Linked DNA regions of Homo sapiens: region 2 is linked to region 1. Evidence: promoter capture Hi-C in 16 types of primary human blood cells and fetal thymus (Javierre and others, 2016). All regions are on one chromosome and are shown on one strand. The core of a region is centred on a gene start or on the middle of the fragment in contact, and the rest is flanking DNA. Distances in the headings are between cores, read along the strand shown. Region 1 holds the start of LRRC61 (leucine rich repeat containing 61). Region 2 holds the start of LOC105375567 (a long non-coding RNA gene).

The links. The method cuts DNA at HindIII sites, captures the fragments that hold promoters and counts their contacts. A CHiCAGO score of 5 or more calls a contact.
Region 2: a contact is called between a fragment that was not itself captured here and the fragment with the promoter of LRRC61 in region 1, in 8 of 17 cell types (non-activated CD4 T cells, total CD4 T cells, endothelial precursors and 5 more). The highest score is 7.9, in non-activated CD4 T cells.

What each region holds. Positions count from the first base shown.
Region 1 is chr7:150,319,234-150,327,029 of GRCh38, reverse strand. LRRC61 (leucine rich repeat containing 61) reads right to left here and starts at 3,675. Exons shown (of 3, transcript NM_001142928.2): 1 at 3,470-3,675; 2 at 1,020-1,189. ACTR3C (actin related protein 3C) reads left to right here and starts at 3,485. Exons shown (of 8, transcript NM_001164458.2): 1 at 3,485-3,561. RefSeq lists enhancers at 2,846-2,915, 4,236-4,295, 4,346-4,455 and a silencer at 3,306-3,625. The HindIII fragment of the contact is 5,059 bases long and covers 3,118-7,796 here.
Region 2 is chr7:150,876,057-150,883,852 of GRCh38, reverse strand. It overlaps LOC105375567 (a long non-coding RNA gene), which reads left to right and starts at 6,723. Exons shown (of 5, transcript XR_928171.3): 1 at 6,723-6,844. The HindIII fragment of the contact is 2,523 bases long and covers 4,949-7,471 here.

The DNA.
Region 1 (7,796 bases), core at 2,426-4,925:
AAGCAAGACTCTGGCCAGAAAGAGGAGCTCCTCCCAGCCAGAAGAACCTCAGAAGGGTTAAGTGGCAACAACTTCAAGTCCATCTCGCAAGAACTTTCAGCCACCAATAAATCCAAGAACTGAAGGCCTACTGCAAGGTGGCGCTTGTGTAGGGGCTAGGTAAAGCTGCAAAGGAAACACAGGCTGCTGTCCTGGGCCCACAACTGCTCTTGGATGTCACACTGGAGGGGACTTAACTCTCACTTCATGATTGAGGAAACTGCAACCCCAGAGTGTGAACATCCAGGCCTCCAGAGGCCATCTGCAGAACGGGGTCACCCTCCAAAGTATTTTTTTTTTTTTTTTTTCAGACTGGGTCTTGCTCTGTCACCCAGGCTGGAGTACAGTGGCATGATCTACCTTGTTGCAACCTCTGCCTCCTGGGCTCAAGTAATCCTCCCAAACTCAGCCTCCCAAGTAGCTGGGACTTCAGATGTGCACCACCACACCCAGCTAATTTTTGTGTTTTCTGTAGAGACGGGATTTCACCATGTTGCCCAAGCTGGTCTTGAACTCCTGGGATCAAGCAATCCCCCTGCCTCAGCCTCCCAAAGTATTGGGATTACAGGTGTGAGCCACTGCACCCAGCACACCCCAAAATCTTCATCTTAAGACCTACCCAGTTACCCCAGGACACCAATCTTGTTCTGTTTCCCAATTAGCTTTGTCTCATCATAAATGCTATACTCTGCAGATACTCTTGATTCACTCAATCATTTAACAGAAATTCATCAAATGTCTACTATGAGCCAGCACTCTGCCTTCAAGATATGAACAGAGGAGAGTAGCTGCCTGGCTGGCACTTGGGGCTCAGGATGAGACGACAACCTAGAAATGGGCTCATCATTAGACCAGGGGGAAAGTGGGGTATGGTGCTATGAGGCGGGGAGGGATCCCTGGGGGGCCCCCGGGCTGACCTACTGAGAAACAGGGTCTATTACACTGAAGAGCTTAGACCCGTCTTGCAAGGTGTTGTTTACCTTAGGCTATTGCTTCACAATCTTCAACCCTCGCAGGCCCGTCAGGTAGATCTGGGATTTTGTGTCATCACTGGTACAACAGTGACACCACCATGTTCTCTTCCACAGAAGTACTTTAGGATGACAGTGCAGCTGGCACTGTTGAGAGCCAACCTTGAATCCAAATGAATCTAAAACGTAAATTTTAAAAAGAAAGTCATTGATAAATTTCAGTACTTTATAACTAAGAAGTTACTTGTGGCCAGGTGTGGTGGCTCACGCCTGTAATCCTAGCACTTTGGGAAGCCAAGGTGGGTGGACTGCTTTGAACTCAGGGGGTTGAGACCAGCTTGGGCAAGATGGCGAAACCTTGTCTTTACAAAAAAAATACAAAAAAATCAGCCAGCTGTGATGGCCTGTGCCTGTGGTCCCAGCTTCTTGGCAGTCTGAGGCAGGAAGATGGCTTGAGCAGGGAAGTGGAGATTGCAGTGAGCCGTGATTGCACCACTGCATTCCAGCCTGAGCAACAGAGCCAGACCCTGTCTCAAAAAAAAGAAGTTACTTGTGACACACATCACCACAGCTGACAACACATTGGAGGCCTACAACCACAACAAGACAAGATTCCAAGGGCTTCTAAGCTGAAGCACGGCCTTTTGGGCTGCACGCCTGCCCATAGTCGATCATGTGGGCAGCAGTCAGGAAAGCGCCCTAGCCAGGCCACATGGGAAGCAGGCACATCCCTGGGAGGCAAAAGGGAAAGCGGGCCAGGCCGGGGTGACGGCAGGGCGGGGTGATGGCACAATGCATGGAGGAGACTGTGGGGAGAGCTGTTCAGGAGGTGGCCCATGCCTAAGCCTCAAGTGGAAGAGGAGGAATGATGGAGAGCGCCTCCACAGTGAGCCTCTTTCCTCATACAGGTCCATGTGGGCTATTTTGGGGCAAATCTTCAGGCAAGTTTCTAGAGAAACTGAAGGAAAACACCAGAGGGGGCTGCCCAGGTAATGCTGACAATACAGGGAGGTGAGAGGATGAGCAGATCTCAAAGGTGACTGAGAGGCAGAGGGGAGAGACAAGGAAAAACCAAAGTAAAGTGAAGTTAGGGAAACCAAGAAAAGACTTTCCAAAAGCAGTGGTCAGCGGGGTCAAAGGTCCCTTCAGTGGGCGGTACAGCAGGAAGTGGGGGAGAAGCAGGAACCGGGAATGCTGGAGGTGGGGATGGGAGGGAAAAGGCTTGGCTCTGTCCCTAAACAGAGAGAAGGTGACCTGGGAAGAGCGGGGAGGCTAACTACACAGGGAAGAGAAGCTTCCTGGAGAAAGGGATCCAGGGCACAGGCGGTGGAAGGGATTGGCCTCAAGAGACCAGGAAGAACTCTCATTTTTCCTGACAGAGAAAGTAGGATGGGTCTGGTAGCAGGCAAGTCCTGGAGTGCTGTGCAGAAGGGAAGTGAGGCAGCTTATGCCTGAGAGCCAGGCATGTTGATTGCTCACGGGGAGCCGTACATCTGTAAAGGCAGCCAGCGGCTGGCTGAGTGATCTGGCTTAGCCTGGGCTGGGAAGCACCTCCGCACACTGGCTCAAGAAATTAGACCTATTCTTCTCGCTGCTCTCACCAAGCCTTTTCCCAAGTGCGTGCCCAGAAGGAAAGCGGCCACTCTTCTACTTCTCTTGTGCCTGCAAGAGAAGTAGAACCCCACCCTGGGCATTCCATGATTATGCCAGGCCTTTCTCACTCCGCCCAGTCCCTCTCCAGCCCCTCTGCTCTCAACTCCAGCACTGCAGGGGGACAGAGTGTCTACTCCACCCCCACCAGGCAGGGGATTTTAAGCACCTGCTGGGCCCTCAAGTCTCATCTTCCTCCACAACATCTGTGAGAAGATTGAAAGGTGGTGAGAGAAAGGGATAGGAGGAGATGAACGTGTGAAAGGAAAAGAGGAGAGCAAGCCATTGCATGTTTTGGGGTTTTGTCCCACACGCAAATTTGACTACTTATAAAGTCTAAGCAAGATGTTTTAAATAATAATCATGCATCATTAGGTTTCATACTGTGCAAAAAAAATGACACAAAGTGAGATCTGTTACAAACGACACGGCAGCACTCTGCTACTTTCTGGAAGCTTAGGGCTAACAATGGAGTCAGAGCATGGCATCCAGAGCCCGTCTCTGAGCACGGCCGTGATCCTGCTCCAGCACACGCCTCGGTTTCCTCGTCTACATTACGGGAATAGTAACAGCACCCGCCTCATGAGATTGTTAGTGTTAAACGAGTTAATTAATACCACAGTATTTCAGGGCAGTTCTCGGCACAGAGGGAGAGATGGGTAAGGGCTGGCTGTTCCGGAAGATTCTGGCCTCTCCCAGTGTGTTTCGGCGCGAGGGCACCGCTGGCCCAGCAGGTGGCCCCCCGGGGCCGGCACGGGCCCCGACAGCCGCCCCCTTCCCTGAACCTCGGCGGCCCAGTCCCCGCTTACCTGAGGGGTGGAGCCGGCAGCCTGCGGAGCCACTGGCCAAGCTGGGAAGTCCGGCGCAACTCCGCACCGCAGAGCCGGCGCCTCCTCGGCAGGTAAGAGCCGCAGCCCCGCCGCCCGCCGCCTGGCGGCCCCTGACCCCTGGGCCGCGTGCCCACCACCCAACTTGTTGGCCAGCGTGCTTCTCCCAGCGCCGCAGGCCTGAGCTCCCGGAACGCGCCCAGGGGGCCTGGCCAAAGGCCGTAGTGGGCGCTCTGGATTCCGGGATGCGCCAGGGGTTACTTCCGGAAGCGCAGCCTGCGGGGGTCTTCGCGCGCACCCCCCGCCTCGCAGTTGGTACGTTCCTCCTACCTGCGGTGCCTGAGTGCGCAGGCGTGGGCAGCGAGGCGGTGCGGCCGGAAGCGAAGGGGCCGTGAGGTCAACAGTCGGTAATCGTTTATCGGTGCGGCCTTAGAGAAAGGACCTCCAAGCCCTTGTTCAATACATGTTGGGTGGTGGTCACAGGTGCCAGTCTCCGGACGGATGGCGGCCTAGATTTCCTCCCGGACTCGGTGGCACCCAAGGCCCCCTGCACGCCGGCGCTGTGCGTGCCAGGCTGACCGCCCGAGTGCGACCCGGACCTCGTCCGCACGTGCAGATGGAAGGGGCCACAAAGACGATAAGGATCCAGGTCTCCCGCGTGGAAGGCTCATCTATCGGTCGGTTCAGGAAATCCACCCAGGGTGTCTCCTGGTGTTATCAGAAAGGGGTCCCGATCCAGGCCCTAAGAGAGGGTTCTTGGATCTCATGCAAGAAAGAATTCAGGGCAAGCCCATAGAGTAAAGTGAAAACAAGTTTATTAAGAAAGCAAAGAAGTAAAAGGATGGCTACTCCATAGGCAGAGCAGCTCCAGGGCTACTGGTTACCCATTTTTTGGTTATTTCTTGATTATATGCTAAACAAGGGTTGAATTATTCATGAGTTTCAGAGAAAGGGGTGGGCAGTTCCCGGAACTGAGGCTTCCTCCCCTTTTTAGACCATATAGAGTATTTCATGATGGTGTCATGGCGTCTGTAAACTGTCATGGTGCTTGCTGGTGGGAGTGTCTTTTAGCATGCTAATGCATTATAATTAGTGCATAATGAGCAGTGAGGACCACCAGAGGTCCCTCCCATTGCCATATTGGTTTTGGTGGCGTTTAGCCAGCTTCTTTACTGCAACCTGTTTTATCAGCAAGGTCTGTATGACCTGTATCTTGTGCCAACCTTCTGTCTCATCCTGTGACTTAGAATGCCTAACCTCCTATGAATGCAGCCTCATTTTACCCAGCCCTTATTCAAGATGGAGTAATTCTGGCTTAAACACCTCTGACACTGGGGCAAATGCCTGCTGCCTGATGACTCCCACAAGTCCTTAACACCTAACCCAGAGAACATCTGGGCCTGCATCCACTCTGGTGCTCTGCCACTCCTGCAGCTACAAATTGTGTGGGAGCCGAAGAAGTCATGTTCCCTGGACGAGCACAAAATGCCTGTTTGTCCCATGTTGGTTCCACATGTGCACCAAAGTGAACAACTTTTGTCTCCCTGGCTACCTTGAACTTCTTTCCACCTCCTCAGTTGGACATATTCAAGGGGCTGGCCCGGGGGCAGGCTTCCCTAGTCTTCCCAGGGGCAACCTCAGCTTTTCCCATATCTTTCAGATGACCCTTCTCCTGCCCCAAGCAAATTAATGCCAAGCCAGTCTAGTTCTCCAGCTTGGGCTACAGCTGGGACCCCTGCCCAAGAATAGTGATTTTTATCTTTACACTTTATCCAAGTTTTTTATTTTTATTTTTATTTTTTTGAGATGGAGTCTCACTCTCTTGCCCAGGCTGGAGTGCAGTGGTGTGATCTCAGCTCACTGCAACCTCCACCTCCTGAGTTCAAGCGATTCTCCTGCCTCAGTCTCCCAAGTAGCTAAGACTACAGGCGTGAACCACCACACCTGGCTAATTTTTGTATTTTTAGTAGAGACGGGGTTTCGCCATATTGGCCAGGGTGGTCTCAAACTCCTGACTTCAAGTGATCTGCCCGCCTTGGCCTCCCAAAGTGCTGGGATTGCAGGTGTGTGCCACCCTGCCCAGCCATATGCAAGTTATTTTTAATTTCAGTTGATCTCCATGCCTCGGAGATGGAAGTATTAGTTTCTCCATTATATGGATCAGAAAATTGAGACTCACACAGCATGTTACAGTAGGAAATGGCACTAAAAGAAAAATTATTCAAACAATTGTTAAGGTGAGAGACTTTATTCAAGAACAGCTGCAATAGGGATTATGCAATAGGGGCAAAAAAATCAGGCTTAACATCAAATACAAGGACAGGTGGAGATTTATAGTTAAGCAACAGGGTGGAAGTCAGCAGATGGAAAATTACTAAGAGGACACATAAAGGTTAGGGAGATTTTTGCTGAACACAAGCCGAGGTGATCAGATACCAAGGGTAGGGGATTTTTGCTGAACTGACTCAGCAGGATTCTTGCTAAAACTGAACTAAGTGAGTTAAGGACCAGCCCAGGGTCAGGGCCTAGTCAAAACGAGGACTGAGAGGAGCCTGACTCAAGTTTAGTCAAAGAGTGAGTTCTTTTCATGAGCTACCAATGATTTGAGTTGTATTGTCAGAGGTGTCCTAACTAGAGTGACACTATCCTAAATAAAGGCTGGGGAAGGCAAGACCTGCTGGGTTGCATTCCCAGGAAGTCAGCACTCTTGATCACAAGATGTTTATTGTTGAGGAAACAAGTTAATGGAAAAAGGCATTCTTGTTTTTGTTTTTGTTTTGGAGATGGAGTCTCACTCTGTTGCCCAGGCTGGAGTGCAATGCCACCATCTCGGCTCACTGCAACCTCTGCCTCCCGGGTTCAAGTGATTCTCCTGCTTCAGCCTTCGAAGTAGCTGGAATTACAGATGTGCGCCACTTTACCTGGCTAATTTTTATATTTTTAGTAGAGACGGGGTTTTGCCATATTGGCCAGCCTGGTCTCAAACTCCTGACTTCAAGTGATCCACCCACCTCAGCCTCCCGAAGTGCTGGGATTACAGGCTTGAGCCATGGCGCCTGGCCTGGAAAAAGGCATTCTTAATTTAAACTATATTTTGCTCTAAAGATAATAGTCCACTCATAAATTCTTTCTGAAATTAATTGCACAAGAGAATAACAATACAGATAGTCTGTCACAAGCCGATCACAAGCCTTTGTAATAAAATACACTATTCTTAGCTCTAATATCCTACACAAACAAGCATTACATTTGAGGTAGGGCGTTCTTCCTCTTGCTTCCTGAGGATACCCTACTCTAATAGATTAGTTTCTAATAAACCATTTAAACTTTACTGTACTTTGCGACTCACCCTAAATTCTTTCCTGTGCAAGATCCAAGAACCTGCCCTTGGGGTCTGGGGTGAAACCCCTTTTCTGGTAAGAGTACTGTTACATGGGATCCACACTATGGGCTCAGAGTTGGTCCCTTTCCAGCGTTAATCCAGAAACACTCTAAAACAAGGAGTTTCTTACTCAAAAGAGGGCAAAAGACCAGTCAGGGATGGATTGGCAGAGGAAGAACGGAAGGAAATGCTGATCTTCCTGTAGGTACAAAACTTGTCACTGCAGCCAAGCCAAGTTTCAGGAGGGTTGACCTAAAATCATCTCGTTTTGCTAGGTGTTTTACAAAGGATAAATAGGACTGGCTCCTGCCCCTAGAGCTTCCAGATACAGCATCCCTGTTTGCCCTGTTTGCAGGGGTGACAGAAAGTGGGAAGTAGCTACATTAGCTGCTAACTCTGTCTCGGGTCAGGGGAGAGGTTGGTAGGGTTAGCCCCAACAGTGTTTTAAAATGCAGAGTAATTGTCAAGACTGGAGTCTGGGCAAACAAACAATAAATAAATAAATACAAAGTAATTGGATGGACAAAGTGCTTTGCCTCCATCTTCCCAAAGTCAAAGGCACCTGAATTTGCCATCCTGCCCTAACTCTTCCTGGACCATTTCATAGCCTTGTGGAATGTCAGAGCTAGACAGACCCTTAAGAAGTTTGTTCTGGGCCAGGCGAGGTGGCTCATGCCTATAATCCCAGCACTTTGGGAGGCCGAGGCAGGCAAATCACCTGAGGTCAGGAGTTCAAGACCAGCCTGAGAAACATGGAGAAACCCCGTTTCTACTAAAAATACAAAATTAGCTAGGCATGGTGGTGCATGCCTGTAATCCCAGCTATTCGGGAGGCCAAGGCAGGAGAATCGCTTGAACCTGAGAGGCGGAGCTTGTGGTGAGCCAAGCTCACGCCATTGGACTCCATCCTGCCTAGGTAACAGAGTG
Region 2 (7,796 bases), core at 4,961-7,460, 550 kb before region 1:
TTATTTCTGGGTTCTCTATTCTGCTCCATTGGTATACGTGGGTATACCTGCCTATTTTTATACCAGTATCATGCTATTTTGGTAACTATAGCCTTGCAGGATAATTTGATGTTGGGTAATGTAATGCCTCCTGATTTTTTGTTGTTGTTGTTGCTTAGTATTGCTTTGGCAATGTGGGCTCTTTTTTGGTTCCATATAAATTTTAGATTTGTTTTTTCTAGTTCCATGAAGAATGATGATGGAATTTTGATAGGAATTGCACTGAACCTGTAGATTGCTTTGGGCAATACGGTCATTTTCACAATATTGATTCTTTCCATCCATGAGTGTGGGATGTGTTTCCATTTTTTTGTGTCATCTATGATTTCTTTAAGCAGTGTTTTGTAGTTTTCTTTGTAGAAATCTTTCACTTTCTTGGGTAAGTACATTCCTAAGTATTTTATTTTTACAGCTGTTATAAAAGGGATTGAGTTCTTGATTTGATTTTCAGCTTGGTTGTTGCTGCTGTATAGCAGTGCTACTGATTTGTGTACATTGATTTTGTAATTTGAGACTTCACTGAATTTGTTTATCAGATCTAGGAGGTTTTTGGATGAGTCTTTAGGGTTTTCTAGGTACATGATCATATCATTGGTGAACAGCGACAATTTGACTTCCTATTTTCCAATTTGGATCCCCTTTATTTTTTCTCTTGTCTGATTGCTCTGGCGAGGACTTTTAGTACTATGTTAAATAGAAGTGGTGAAAGTGGGCATACTTGTCTTATTCCATTTATCGGGGGAATGCTTTCAACTTTTCCCCATTCAGTATGGTGTTGACTGTGGGTTTGTCATATACGGCTTTTATTACTTTGAGGTAAGTCCCTTTTATGCCTATTTTGTTAATGGTTTTTATCATAAAGCAATGCCGGATTTTATAAAATTATTTTCTGCATCTATTGAGATGATCAGATGATTTTTGTTTTTAATTCTGTTTATGTGAGAGATCACATTTATTGACTTGAGTATGCTAAACATTCCCTGCATCCTTGGGATGAAACCCATTTGATCATGGTGGATTATCTTTTTGATATGCTGTTGGATTTGGTTAGCTAGTATTTTTGTTGAGGATTTTTGCCTCTATGTTCATCAGGGATATTGGTCTGTAGTTTTCTTTTTTTGTTATGTCCTTTCCTGGTTTTGGTATTCGGGTGATACTGGCTTCATAGAATGATTTAGGGAGGATTCCCTCTTTCTGTATCTTTTGAAAAGTTTCTGTAGGATTGGTACTGATTCTTCTTTGAATGTCTGATAGAATTCAGCTGTGAATCCATCTAGTCCTGAACTTTTGTTGTTGTTGGAAATTTTTTTTATTACTGTTGAAATCTCACTACTTGTTATTGGTCCGATCAGGGTTTATATTTCTTCCTGATTTATTCTAGGAGAGTTGTATGTTCCCAGGAATTTATCTATTTCCTCTAGATTCTCTAGTTTGTGTGTGTAAAGCTATTCATAGTAGCCTTGAATGATTTTTGTATTTCTGTGGTATTGGTTGTAATATCTCCAGTTTCATTTCTAATTGAGCTTATTTGGATAGTCTCTCTTCTTTTCTTGGTTAATCTCATTTATCTGTATTTTTTTTTTTAGTTATTTTCTTAGTGGTTGCTCTAGGCCTTACCATACACATTTTAACTTATCAGAATCTGCTTCAGATTATACTAACTTAATTCCAACGAGTTATAGAAATGCTGCTTTTGTATAGCTCTATATTCTGTTCTCCTTTTGTGTCATTATTGTTATACATATTATATCTATATATGTTGCAAACCCAAAATAACATAGTTATAACTATTACTTTATGGAATTCTGTACCTTTTAAAGAAGCTGAGAGAAGAAAGGAAAGCAAGTATGTATTTATAGATTTTGTTATATTAACCTTCTTATTTATCATTTTTGGCTCTTTTTATTGTACCTGTGGATTCAAGTTACCATCAGCTGATATTTCCTTATTCCAGTGCAGCTTTGCTCCCACCTACTGGTTTTGTGCTATTATTGTAAAATAAATACATTTCTATATGTGTAGACCCAACAATACAATTTTAAACACATACACACACACACACACACACACACACACACAGAGCCCACAATTGCTTTTAAAATTAGTTAAGTAAAGAAAGAAGAAGAAATATGCATTTACACTATTGTTTTTATAATTACAAAATTATCTACATTGGTGCTCTTTAAATTTTGTTTGTGGGTTTAAGTTACTGTCTAGGCCATTTGCTTTCAGCCTAAAGAATTTATTTTGCTATTTTTTGTGAGGTGGCATGCCAGCAAGGAATTCTCTTAGTTTTTGTTTATCTAAGAATGGTTTTATTTTACTTTCATTTTTAAAAAAACAATATTGCTGGATATAAGATTCTTGCTTGACAGTTTTTTTTCTTTCAGCACTTTAAATATGTTATCTCAGTGCCTCTGGCCTCCATTATTTCTGATGAAAAGTCAATTGTTAATCTCATTGGGGTTCCCTTGTATGTGACTAGTATTTTTCTCTCGGTGATTTCAATATTTTCTTTATGTCTTTGGCTTTCAACATTTTTAAGATGATGTGTCTGGGTTAAATCTGTTTTTGTTTCTCCTAATTGAAGCTTGTTGAGCTTCTTGAACATGTGGATTAATGTTTTCCATCATATTTGGGAAGTTTTCAGGCATTATTTCTTAGATTTTTTTTTCTGTTTTCTTCTCTCTCTTCCTCCTTCAGTTACTCCCATTTTGCATATTTGGTACACTTAATAATGTCACACATTTCTCTGAGGCTCTGTTCATTTTTCTTTCTGCTTTTTTTCTCTCTGCTTTTCAAATTGCATAATCTTTATTGATCTGTATTCAAGTTTGCTGATTTTTTCTTCTTCCAGTTCAAATCCACTACTCAGCTCCTCTAGCAAATTCTTCATTTTAGTTATTATATTTCTCAACTCCAGAATTTCCATTTGGTTCTTTTAAAAAATACTTTCTGTTTTTATATTAATATTCTCTATTTGAGTGGACATTGTCATAACCTTATTCACTTCTTTAAGCATAGTTTCCTTTAGTACTTTGACCATATTTATAACAGCTGCTTTGATGTCTCTGTTAATTCCCCCATCTGGGCCCTCTCACAGAGTTTTTGTTGCCGGGTTTTTTTATTCTGTGGGTTATACTTTTCTGTTTCTTTGCATGTCTCATAATGCTTTGTTGTTAAAAGCTGATCATTTTAGATAACATATTTTAGATAATATATTGGAGCAACTCTGGATACTGATGCTGCCCTCCCCTCCACGTACTCCTTACTCCTGGCCAAGGCTTCTTGTTGTTTTTGGCTTATTTGTTTAGTGACTTTGCTTGACTATTTTGTGAAGTGTATTTCCCCATAATGTGAAGCCTCTGATTTCACTCCTCAGAGGGCACAGCCTTAGGTACATGTACAGTCAGTCATCTGGGGTGACAGAAGTTTTAACCGGCCTCTCTTTAATTTTCTCATTTCCTGATCTCTTTGCTAAGCCATCAGTCTCTGTTGGCATCACACCCAGCTGTCAGGGTACACTAATTACTGGCTGATTTTCTATTGTTTTTCTACAATGCCTGGAGTATGCAATGCTTCACAGTATGATCCAGATAAATTTGGGTCCCTTTGTAGGATTGTTTTGAGTCCAGTCTTTGGGGTTTGTTCAGACAGTGGAAGGACTCTTCTTAGCTATTTGTTTTGTTTTCTCTGGTAAACTGGCTGGCATATAGTTTATCCCATTATCTTTATTGTTTACCACCAAAATCTCCATTGTTTTTGCGAGTTCCCTTATGCTTGAACTTCTCTACATCCTGTTTTAAATCAAGTTAGTTTCTTGGGGGGTCGGGGGAGAGCTTCAGTGCTCTCTGTTCTTATGATCTACCTCTTCCTTTGGGCAAAATCTTTGAGTCACTGCTCAAGACCTGGGGGTAGGGGCTGTGGCTGGCTTCTCTCAGAGCCCTCCTGCTTTACAGAGCAGGGCTCTGCGTGGTGGCAGTAGCCTCTTGTCTTCTCAGGTTGCTGTTGTAGCATGGAACCTCTGATCCAAACGCAATTGGGGCTTCAGTAATTTCAGCCTGCATCACCTGGGGTAGTCTCCACCTATGAGTGGGGACTGGGTGGAGGAGAGAAGCTTCCATTCTCTCAGCTGCACTCATCTACAATTTAGCCTGTGCAAAATGGGGGCTGAGGAATTCTGGTGGCCTGCCTCTTCTGGGGAGCCATTGTATTGCTTGACTGGGAGCTGGATGGAGAGGGAGCTGTGTTTTCCTGGCTAAGTCCATGAAGAGTGGAGCTTCTGTTAAGTGAGTTGGGGGGATGGAGGAGAGAGGAAGTGAGTCATGGCTCAAGTGTCATAGATTCTCATTGTTCTTATTGGGAACAATTTCCAGAGACTTTAAATGCTTAAAAATCATTTAACTAGATATAAGTGTTTTGCTGGGGAGCAGGTCTGCAGAGCTCCTCATACAATCATTCTGGAAGTGGTCTCTGCTTTTTTCTCTTCCTTCTTTTTTCTTTCTTCCCTTTCTTTTTCTTTCTGTGTGTAGTTTCTGTTTTGTTTTGTTAACCTATGGATCAACAGCAGAAGATGTCAGATGTAAGAAATGATGGTAGGACGTGGGATGCTATTAGTAGGTATATCAGCTAATGTTGAAGACACTACTCTTAAATCAAGGAAAATATGATCAGAATAATAAATTTTTAAAGTATAGTGAACAAATTCTTCAGTAAGGCTGAAGGTTAAAAGTAAAAAGTTTCAAAGCAATACTTTTCTTGGCTCTTCTTTATAATAATTTATTGTCTAGTGAGCTACTAACCCTTTTTCTTTATGACTTGATTGCCCCCGTATGCTAAAATACTTGCTGTTTTACTTTTCCTTTCATTGACATTTACAATCCTTTGTCTTTTAGTAGTTTCACAAGCTTTGAAACAATGTTTAGATAATTTTAAAAAATAAAAATAAAACAATGCTAAGGGTACAATCATTGATGTTTTAAATATATCAGCTGCTATAAGGCACTTTGTCCAATTTTCATAATAATTTTGTCTTAATGGTGTTAAGAGCAAAGATTTAAGATTTACTTTCTTAGTGCCATAAAAATAAGAGCTATTCAGCTGGGTTTCTGAAATATTAAGTGCAATGCAAAAGTTTGTTTGCCTAATATCCCTGGACACCAGGCTTCCCAAAATATCCTGCCCCAGACCATAGCCACATCTTCCCACTAGATTCCTGGGCAACTAGAAACAATGGTAAAGGAAAACAAGGTCACACAATTTTTTTTGAGATGGAGTCTTGCTCTGTCACCCAGGCTGGACTGCAGTGGCGCGATGTCGGCTCACTGCAAGCTCAGCCTCCCTGATTCACACCATTCTCCTGCCTCAGCCTCATGAGTTGCTGGGACTACAGGCGCCCGCCACCACGCCCAGCTAATTTTCTTTTCTATTTTTCGTGGAGATGGGGTTTCACCATGTTAGCCAGGATGGTCTTGATCTCCGACCTCGTGATCCACCCGCCTCGGCCTCCCAAAGTGCTGGGATAACAGGCGTGAGACACTGTGCTCGGCTAAGGTCACACTAATTGTTAGCTGGGAGTGGACCCCAAACCTGTTGAAAGAACCCATCAGCTTTCCTTTAAGAAGGTAATGCCACAGACCACAACAGATAATTGAGGGTTATTCTGTGAGCTTCCACTAAAGCTAAAACATGTGTGGAAGGGACAGAAGAGAGGATAACAGGTTTGCTGGCCTGTTTACCACTTGGGGACGTTTGGATGGATGATGAAGAAGAAAAAGAATCAAAAGGACTGGGGCTCATCACAGGTGGGAATAGTATAATATTAGCTCTTCATTCAGAACCATGGTAGCAAAAAGAGAGAAAACTGCATCTGTGGACTGAATTATTCCCCTCAGCCCTCTACCCCAGTGTGTCTTCTTTTTGGGAATAGAGTAGAAAGCCAGGAAAATGGTGGGGATCTAGGAGGAAGCAGGCATCTCCTCTGACTTGCACGTCCCCCTGTTTCACTGTCCTTTGTTAACTCACTGTGTTTGACAGCCACATCTGTGGTCAGCCAGGGGTGCAGCTGCTCCTACTGGTAGCTAATGGCCATAGAACACCAGGGGCGTCTTAAAGCCCCTTCTGTGATCCGCACCACTGCTCCTGGGTATACTCCCAGGGTCTGTTATATGGGTAACATGCACCTCGCAGCAAGATCTCCTGAAATGGGTTAGGACAGGAATATTAGGTAATTGCAAACCCATACTTCCCACCATTCTTGTCTTCAATTATGGCCAATTACATAGTTACGGCAGCCTTGTATTGTTACAATACAATCTTCCTCTATGCTTAGGAACCTCTATGGAGATGGTTGTGTTACTTCAACCAAAGACAAGAAGAGACTAATCTGCAGAATTAGAACAATTCCCTAGTTCTTCAACAAATCAGTGCTGCTTTTCTTGCCAATAATAGACGTGTTTGTATTTCTCCGTGGAAACCCTTGGGGTAAACATGTTGCTTGTTCTTCCAATAAAGAATTGAACCACCAGAGGGCCTCAGGCGACTCAGGAGGTTTGGGAAGAGACAAAGGCACATGCTTAGAGGGTCTGGAGAAGGCGAGGAAGAAGGAAGGGAGCCAAGTAAAACATGTGACTGACCAGGGGCTTTGGAGAAGACAAGCCCTGCAGGAAGGCACGCATGTGGTCATTCTGTCTGTAGCCTCCCATTCCTCCCTGCTTTCCCCAGCTGCATCTACCTGGATCCTGAATTTGAACCAAGTGGTCCAAACGGCCCGGTCACCTGAGCAACCCCTCTGCAGGAACCGCAGGTGTGGGCGGGGTGGTGGGGAGGAGGCGGGGGGGTGGGGGAAAGGCGGGGGGTGGGGGGAGCTCAGCGGCGCCATCTAGCGTCCAGACAGCGGTGGCTCTGGGAAAGCTGATTGTTTTCTTAGCCAGAGGAGGAAGAGAAGGTTGGTCCTCAGCGCCTGGACGCCTGGTAGACGATAGGGGATGACATGATGAGTAAAATAAGGACAGGAACACGCCGAATCCCCTTTCATAATGATAGGACCACGCCAAATCCCCTTTCTTTTTAAAATTTGACATATACCCTTGAATATATATGTATTCTTATAAAATATGGTTATCTGGTATGTATTTATGTATATTGATATAAAGCTGCAGATTTAAAAATAGTACTTCTTTCATCTCTCTCCATCTACATAGTCTTCGTGGTTTTCAGTAAAATGATAATTTCTGGATTACTTAGATGTAGTTATTATGATCCAACCCTTGAATAAGGGGAGTTGAGAGTTGGTGAAACATCCCTGTCTCAATATTTGTTCATGCCATATTTCCTTTGAAAGAATTTACAGATAAAGGCATCAAATACCTGAAAAAGTAACAAGTTTACTATATTTTACTTGAGAATTTGTATATATATTTTTAAGAAAGCTTTTTAGTTTTGGCGTAATTATAAACTCACAAGAGGTAGCAAAAAGAGTACGGAGTTCTGTGAACCTTCAACTGGATTTCTCTAATGGTGACATCTTGCAATGGACTGAGTATGTCTCCCTCAAATTCATGTGTTGAAATCTTAATCTCCATAGTGGTAGCATTAGGAGATGGGGCCTTTGGAAGGTGATTAGGTCACAAGGGCAGTGCCCTCACAAATGAGATTAATGCCCTTATAAAAAAAAAAAAAGACCGCAGAAAACTCTCTTGTCCCTTCCACCATGTGAGGACGCAGTGGGAAGATGGCCAGTCCATGCACCAGGAAGC